Linked DNA regions of Homo sapiens: region 2 is linked to region 1. Evidence: promoter capture Hi-C in 16 types of primary human blood cells and fetal thymus (Javierre and others, 2016). All regions are on one chromosome and are shown on one strand. The core of a region is centred on a gene start or on the middle of the fragment in contact, and the rest is flanking DNA. Distances in the headings are between cores, read along the strand shown.

Region 1 (3,648 bases), core at 545-3,044:
ATCCATCAGTTTTTATATGGGGAAATAGAAGCCCTGAGAGGGGAAATGACTCTTTCAAGGATACCCAGTAAATCAGAGGCAATTCTGGGTTTTCAGTGGCACCAAATTCTGGAGATCTGAGTATTGGGTAATTTTGGTATTGTCCTTCTATTAAAAAACAACAAAACCCAGTGGGGTGGGGAGGAGTGGGGGGCAAAAAAAAAAAAAAAGAAAAACCAAACCAAAACTCATTGTATTTTTCTGATTATAAATTCAATATTTATGTGTTCTGATTATAAATTCAATATTCATGAAAATTCAGAAGAACGTTATGAAGTAATGCCATTAACATTCCCATACTGTTATCTTGAACACGATGGTCAATGGTTTGATGTATTTCCTTCAAAATTTTTGTCTGTATATATTTATGTTTTTAAAAATAAAATCAGGATATCATGTGTACTAGTTTGTGTATTGATCATTTTCACACACATTTCCCTGTATTCTCACCTAGTCTTTGTGAATTTGATAATGTAGCACTCAGTTATGTTGATGAAGCATATGTCATTTATTTAACCTATCAATTTGAGCTTTTGGAGACAAATCAAGTATCAGATATAACTGTGATGATCATGCTGATACAATTTCAACCCCAGAGCTAGCTCACACACATGCAGACGTGAAACCCAAGTGAGTTTCTAAGGCCAGTGGTTATTCTGGTGGAGAAGGTTAAACCCAGCATCAGGTAACTGGTCCCACCGGAAGGGGACAGTGGCCTGGCTAGCAGGAAGTGAATGGACTTGGAACGAGTGGACGGATGGAGACCAATTAGCCCTGAGGCGTTAGGTGCTGCCCATCCTCTGCAGCCTTGGCTTCCTTCCTGGTGAAGTGGGGACAATACCAGCGCCAGTCTCATCTAGGGTCGAGCTCCTCCAGGCCCCAGAGCCTTTGCATGGGTCGTTTTGTCTGCTGAAGGTAGCTCTGCCCTTCTCTCCACCTGGCTGCCCGTGTTGCTGAGCTTCTGGGCCCAGCAGCCCTTTGCTGTCTTGCCCGTCAGGCCGGACCAGACCGTCTTGCCCCGGTGGCCCCGGGGGCTTCTTCACAGGCCTCATCGCAGGGTTGTCTCCCCAATGCAGGGCAGGCAGGAGGAGCTCTGGCCGCAGGTCGGGGTCCAGGTCTTCCTCGGCCACTGCGTTTGGAGCAGGGGCTCCCTTCCCTTCTTCTCCATCTAAGTCCTCTAATCATGTCCCTCCCAACACTTACGGCCATAACTTGTCATTATTTTGTCTATTAGCTGTTTCCTTGAGTCTTGTCTGTCTTCTCCTTTGATTAGGACCCGCCTCCGTCTTGGTGGCCGCTGTATCTCCTAAACCCCCAGGCCTGAGATATAGTGGGGGGCCCATACAAGTTCGTGAAATGACTAAGGAGAAACAGCTGTGGAGGCACCACCCCTGAGGACGCAGTGGGCCTGGGGTTGGGCGGACCCCAGGCTGCGGGCGGAGGCGGGACGTAGGGGCGGGGTTTCGGGGCTTCGGAGCGGAGCCTAAGGGGCGGGACTGGGGCTTCGGGGCGGGGCTTCGGGGCTGCGGTCGTGTGGTCTTGACCGCGCGGCTCCGACTGCGCTGGCTGAGTTCCTCAGGCCGCCCGCTCTCTGGCTTCCAGCCCGCGCTGCCGTTAGGGGGCGCCCGCGCTCGTGGCGCCGCGGCTCTGCTGGGAAGGCGCCGCCCGCGCCGGGCAGCTGGAGCCGCAACTCCGGGCGCGGGCTCAGTCGTCCCCTCTGCCGCCGCCGCCGCCGCCGTCGCCGGGCGCGGGCTCGCTTGTCCCCGCGCTCGCGCTCTCCGGCCGCGGGCATCTCCCGGCCCGGCCGCAGCAGCCGCCGCCGCCGCGCAGTGAGTGGGGCTGGCGCGGGGCTTGCGGGGCCGGGGTTTGGGAGGGCCGGGTTTCAGGAGACGTCTGCGCCGAGCGGCCAGGGGAGCGGGGCTGAGGAGGATCTGGGCGGGGGCTCCTGGAACGGGGCGGCGGCGGGGCCGCGTTGAGGGGACCGCGCGTCCCGGGCTGGCACGAGCCAGCAGCGGAGGTGCCCGCGGCGGGGCCTGGGCGGGGGTTCCGGGGCCCGCCCGGCGGGGATGCGCGGTTTCTGCGGGCCCGGGTTCGGAGCCCCGCGGCGCGCCCCTCGTCCGGGCCCGGAGCATCGCCCGCCCTACCCCTGGCCGGGTCGGGTTGCGGGGGCTTCGCTGGCGGGGCAGCAGCGAAGGGCGGCCCGGACGGAGATATTTGGGGTGTGCTCGAAAATGATTGTTTTTGGGAGATGGCGCTTATTAGCCACCAATTGCCCTAGTTTAAAGCTTGAGGCAGGACTCAAAACCCTGCCTTTGGGATTTTCTGCCCTGAAGAGACTCTCAGATCGCAGCTGAGTTCTTTATGCCTAGATTTGTGTGTGTGTGGTGGCGTTTTTAATGCTTGATGTCAGAGGTGATAAATGGCCATGGTAATGGGGAGCCCTGGCAGCACCTGCTGGGCTGACAGTGGTGGAGGCTGTGTCTGGGGGTGGGACGGGGAAATGAAACGTGACAGAGATCCTGTTTGGATATTCTGCCGAAGTTACCATGTTTCTGTTCAAGTATACCAGTTCTAGAACAAGTTGATGGATCCAATTTTAGGACTTTGTGATAGAAGAGGTTTGGGTGGCAAAGTGACCTGGGATGACCCGGCTCGGCTAAGAATATTTGGGGTAGCCTAAGTATCTCTTCTATATCCCCCTGGCATGTTCTTTTTTTCGCTGTCACAAATGCCCTATTACTTGAATCATCCTGGGATAGGAGAGAAGCTTGGGGACAGCATGTAGCACAGTCCTGAGCCCAAGATTGAGATGTTTTCAAATGAACGAATATGTAGCTAGGAAAAGGAAAATGTGTTTGTCAGCAGGGTTGGTAGGTTGAGAGTATTTTCTCTTTGGCCGAAACCATCAGTCCATACTGATACTTGATTTTGTGCTATGCCTTAGATATGAACGATGGAGTGGTCAGGATAGCCATGGATGCCATTCCAAAGTTTTGTGATTTGAATTTTCATAAATCATATTTTAACCAAAGCATTACTACTTAAAGGAATCTTAGGGTGAACCCTATGAATCCTTCAGTGCGCTTGGATTTTGATATTTGGGGTCCATTTAAAATGGAGTACCTGTATGTATTTGGATTCAGCTTTAACTTGGAGATAATCCCGAGTCATGCTTTAAAGAAGTTCCTTCTGAGATCAGGAGCTCAGGTGTTTGGTGAACTCTGGGAAAACTAGACACTCCCCTTTACCTGTATATAGTTCTCCCTTCTGGAGCTCTGGGAAAAGGAGGACCTGGGGAGATTTGAAGCAAATTAAGAGGCTGCCTCCTCCATATTTGCCGTCTCCAGGCCAATGCTCTAAATTACTTGTGTTCACACTCAAGTTTCTCATGTTAACCTAGAAATTTTGTTTATGCTGCTGCCACTAATGTTTTCACATTTGTCTAATACTTGCTAGTTTACAGATGGTTTTATATTCATGATCTCCCTTATTTTCTCCATTTCCCCAAAGAAGAAGCTGGGCATAAAGAGTGATTTTCTCAGGGTCTCATAATCAGTAACGGAGCAGAATTCAACTACAGGACCTCCCTGGGAACCTGTTCTCTTTCCT
Region 2 (4,186 bases), core at 899-3,398, 300 kb before region 1:
GATTTGATTATGGAGAAATTCTCAGGGAGGTGCTGGTTTGTCTTTAATACCTCCCTCAGTCCCGTGTTGACAGAGAGTAGGCTGCCATCTCCGAGCATTCTGCAGGCAAGAGAATTAAGGCAGAATTTAACAAGGCGTGATTTTCACTGGACTTAATTTTTACGTTACCTTCAATTTATGGCAAATGCTGCTGCTTTCTTACTCATGCTAGTATCATGAAATTTCTTTTAAAAATTTATTTCAGCAAGAAATTAAGCGATTTAATGGAAAATATCGAGAAAAATCACAGCATATGTGCTTTGCAATAATGACAAAAAGTAAGAATGAGGTAGTCAAATGAGTTTTGGAAACAAACTAACATATCCCAAGTTGGGTGATGCAGTTGTGGTCTACGTGGTCCTGAGTGACTTCCCGAGGAATGGCAAGGTGAGTCAAACTGCCATTTCATGAGTGACCAGTGGGCCTTCCCCATTCTAATCAACAGTTTTGGTATCTGCATTTGCTAACATCACCAGCACAACTAACTTTTTTTTTTTTTTTTTTTTTTTTGAGACACAGTCATGCTCTGTCACCCAGGTTGGAGTGCAGTGCGCCATCTCAGCTCACTGCAACCTCCACCTTCCGGGTTGAAGCGATTCTCCTGCCTCAGCCTCCCAAGTAGCTGGAATTATAGGTGTGTGCCACCACGCCTGGCTAATTTTTGTATTTTTAGTAGAGACGGGGTTTATCCCTGTTGGCCAGGCTGGTCTTGAACTCGTGACCTTAGGTGATCCGCCCACCTCAACCTCCCAAAGTGCTGGGATTACCGGTGTAAGCCACCGCTCCAGGGCTACGGCTTTTTTTTTTCTTTTTTTGAGACGGAGTCTCTCTGTGTCACCCAGGCTAGAGTGCAGTGGCGCAATCTCGGCTCACTGCAAGCTCTGCCTCCTGGGTTCATGCCATTCTCCTGCCTCAGCCTCCCGAGTAGCTGGGACTACAGGTGCCCGGCACCACGCCTGGCTAATTTTTTTTGTATTTTTTAGTAGAGACGGGGTTTCACTGTGTTAGCCAGGATGGTCTCGATCTCCTGACCTCGTGATCCACCGGCCGCAGCCTCCCAAAGTGCTGGGATTACAGGTGTGAGCCACCACGCCCGGCCCGGGCTACGGCTTTTAATTCAACCCAAATGTAAATTCTTCGCATCAAGTTAGACATTTGTGAAAGCTTTCTTTAAGACTCAGAAAGCAAAGAATGACATGTTAAAGGCTCTTCCATTTCTGACTTCTTCTAGGGATGTGCAGGACCAGGCCAGTGTTCATGTGACGTTTTCAGTCCAGGGCACCAGCCAGATCCTGGGCATCTTTGCATGTTCCCCCAGCACTCAGCACATGAGAGGTGTTTGATAAATATGTGAACATGGAACAAAGACTGGAACTGAGACCATCTTGTCTAATTACATTTTTAAAACATCATTTTTATGGCTTTTCATTTTCTCCGTTTATTTTATTTAATTTTACTTTTTATTTTATTGTATTGAGACAGGTCTCACTATGTTGTCCAGGCTGGAGTGCCGTGGCTATTCACAGGCATGTGATCATGTTGCTCTAAAGCCTTGAACTCCTGGGCTCAAGTGATCCTCCTGCCTCAGCCTCCCAAGTAGCTGGGATTACAGCATATGCCACCACAACTGGCCTATGACTTTTTAAAAGCCACAAGAGGCCGGGCATGGTGGCTCACACCTGTAATCCAAGCACTTTGGGAGGCCAAAGCAGGCGGATCACCTGAGGTCACGAGTTCAAGACCAGCCTGGCCAACATGGCGAAACCCCATCTCTACTAAAATTACAAAAAAAAAAAAAAAAAAAAAAAAAAGCGGGGCATGTTTGTGTATGCCTGTAATCCCAGCTACTTGGGAGGCTGAGGCAGGAAAATCGCTTGAACCCGGGAGGCGGAGGTTGCAGTGAGCCAAGATCCTGCCACTGCACTCCAGCCTGGGCGACAGAGCAGGACTCTGTCTCAAAAAAAAGAAAAAAAAGAGGCACAAGAGTTATACATGTTGTTATGAGAAACAAAATTCAGAGCATCAAAATAAGAAATGAATCTTTAAAATGTCACATGTAATCCCACCATCCTTTGGGATACATGTGTATAAAATCAGGATCCTTTTAGTAAACATCTTTTTCTAACCTGTTCTACCCCTGACCTGATCTACTGTGGCCATGTTGCCTTCTGATTCTTCTGTATCATTTTCAATCACTTCCCACTCATTTGCCAGGGGAGAAGAATGGCGCTGGAGAAGGGACTTGACCTACCCACGGGCACACAACTGCCATGTGTAACTGAGTGAGTGGCCATCGTCCAGGCTTTGCTGGAAGTCCTTCAAAATAGGGGGTCTGGGCACTTAGACCCCTGTAACTCCCCGCCTTGGGTTCCCACTTTGCAGAGTGATAACTTCTGCAAAGGAAACACCAGCCTCAAAAGCTCCAAGAGGAACAGGCCGGGCATGGTGGCTCACGCCTGTAATCCCAGCACTTTGGGAGGCCGAGGCGGGCGGATCACGAGGTCAAGAAATCAAGACCATCCTGGGTAACATGGTGAAACCCTGTCTCTACTAAAAATACAAAAAAAAAAAAAAATTAGCCAGGCGTGGTGGCGGGCGCCTGTAGTCCCAGCTACTCGGGAGGCTGAGGCAGGAGAATGGCGTGAACCCGGGAGGCGGAGCTTGCAGTGAGCCGAGATCGCACCACTGCACTCCAGCCTGGGCAACAGAGCGAGACTCTGTCTAAAAAAAAAAAAAAAAAAAAAAAAAACTCCGAGAGGAAGTGAAAACGAGTGGCCTGGTGGCTCTCATGCAGATGGCCATCTCACACTTCCTCGTGGCAGGCTGAGCTCTGGGAACTGTGGCCACCACCTGGGACCAGGCTCCTAGGGGTTTCCCCACCTGTGGTCTCTGTGATGGAAGATCACTAACATTCACACGCCTCAGGCACTCCCCCCTCTGTCCCCATTGAAGGAGCAAAGATGAAAGCTGTTTGAAAATCCCTGAAGGGACTTTAAAAAGCACGAGGGAATGCTAGGACTTAAATGTATGCATTGCATTTAGGAATATGTAGCTAAAGCTTTAAAAATATAAATACCGTTGCACTAATTGGTCTCATTTTTAGGGTTGCTTCCTGAGGAAATCATAAATACTTGCACAAAATGCACAGAGGATATTGATTTTAGCAGTATTTATAACAGCAAACCCTTGGTAATAACCCAATGCCTAATGATGGGGATTGGGCGCATCAATTGCGGTAAGTCTTTGTGATGGAACAATGATCAGCCCATGAATGTAATGAGCACTTGCCGTATGCCAGGCATTGTGCTAGCAGCCTGACATGTTATTTCATTTACTCCACATCGGATCTTCATGAGTGAGGCACTAGGATAACTTCCATTTTACAGGGGAGGAAATGAAAGACACAGAGAGCTTGTCTCTTGGTCACAGACATATGAAGTGATAATGTCAGGATTTAAATCCAGGCCTATCTGATAGCGAAGCCAGTGCTTACCTCTGCTAAGCTACAGTGCCCAGGGCCACCGCATAGGGTCCTGTGGTTCATACGCTACATGTGGTACCCAGTAGAGGGGCCTGACATTTAATTGACTCAGCTCTGCAAGCAGTGTGCTTTTCTTATTTTTATTTTTATTTTTTATTTTTGAGACAAAGTCTCACTCTGTTACCCAGGCTGGAGTGCAGTGGTGCGATCCTGGCTCACTGCAGCCTCCACCTTCTGGGCTCAAGCGATCCTCCCACCTCAGCCTCCTGAGTAGCTGGGAGTATAGGTGTGTGCCACCATGCCTGGCTAATTTTTGTATTTTTTGTAGAGACGGGGTTTCATCATGTTGCCCAGGCTGGTCTCAAACTCCTGTACTCAAGCGATCCATCCATCGAGGCCTCCCAAAGTGCTAGGACTACTGGCGTGAGCCACAGTGCCCAGCCACCTTGCGTCTTTCCTAGTGCACACCAAGCACTGTGGTGAGCCAGCAGCACCCTGCAGGGCCTCCTACCTGTCATATGCACAGTTGGTGCTCTTCTTCACCGTGGTGTCCTCTTGGTCCCCGATCAGCCAAACAAACCTGGGGTCAGTCCTCAAGCGGATGTTCTTCCAGGCCTTCTTGGGGACGTAGCTGCAGCCGGCATTGAAGTCACCCATGAAAATGAA

The links. The method cuts DNA at HindIII sites, captures the fragments that hold promoters and counts their contacts. A CHiCAGO score of 5 or more calls a contact.
Region 2: a contact is called between a fragment that was not itself captured here and the fragment with the promoter of KCTD6 in region 1, in 1 of 17 cell types (naive B cells). The highest score is 6.9, in naive B cells.

What each region holds. Positions count from the first base shown.
Region 1 is chr3:58,490,302-58,493,949 of GRCh38, forward strand. It overlaps KCTD6 (potassium channel tetramerization domain containing 6), which reads left to right and starts at 1,795. Exons shown (of 3, transcript NM_001128214.2): 1 at 1,795-1,868. RefSeq lists a silencer at 1,446-2,095. The HindIII fragment of the contact is 5,155 bases long and covers 1-2,322 here.
Region 2 is chr3:58,193,790-58,197,975 of GRCh38, forward strand. DNASE1L3 (deoxyribonuclease 1L3) reads right to left here. Exons shown (of 8, transcript NM_004944.4): 6 at 4,032-4,186. Among named protein-coding and RNA genes, the nearest start is that of DNASE1L3, 15 kb to the right of the region's middle. RefSeq lists an enhancer at 2,781-2,960. The HindIII fragment of the contact is 1,894 bases long and covers 1,202-3,095 here.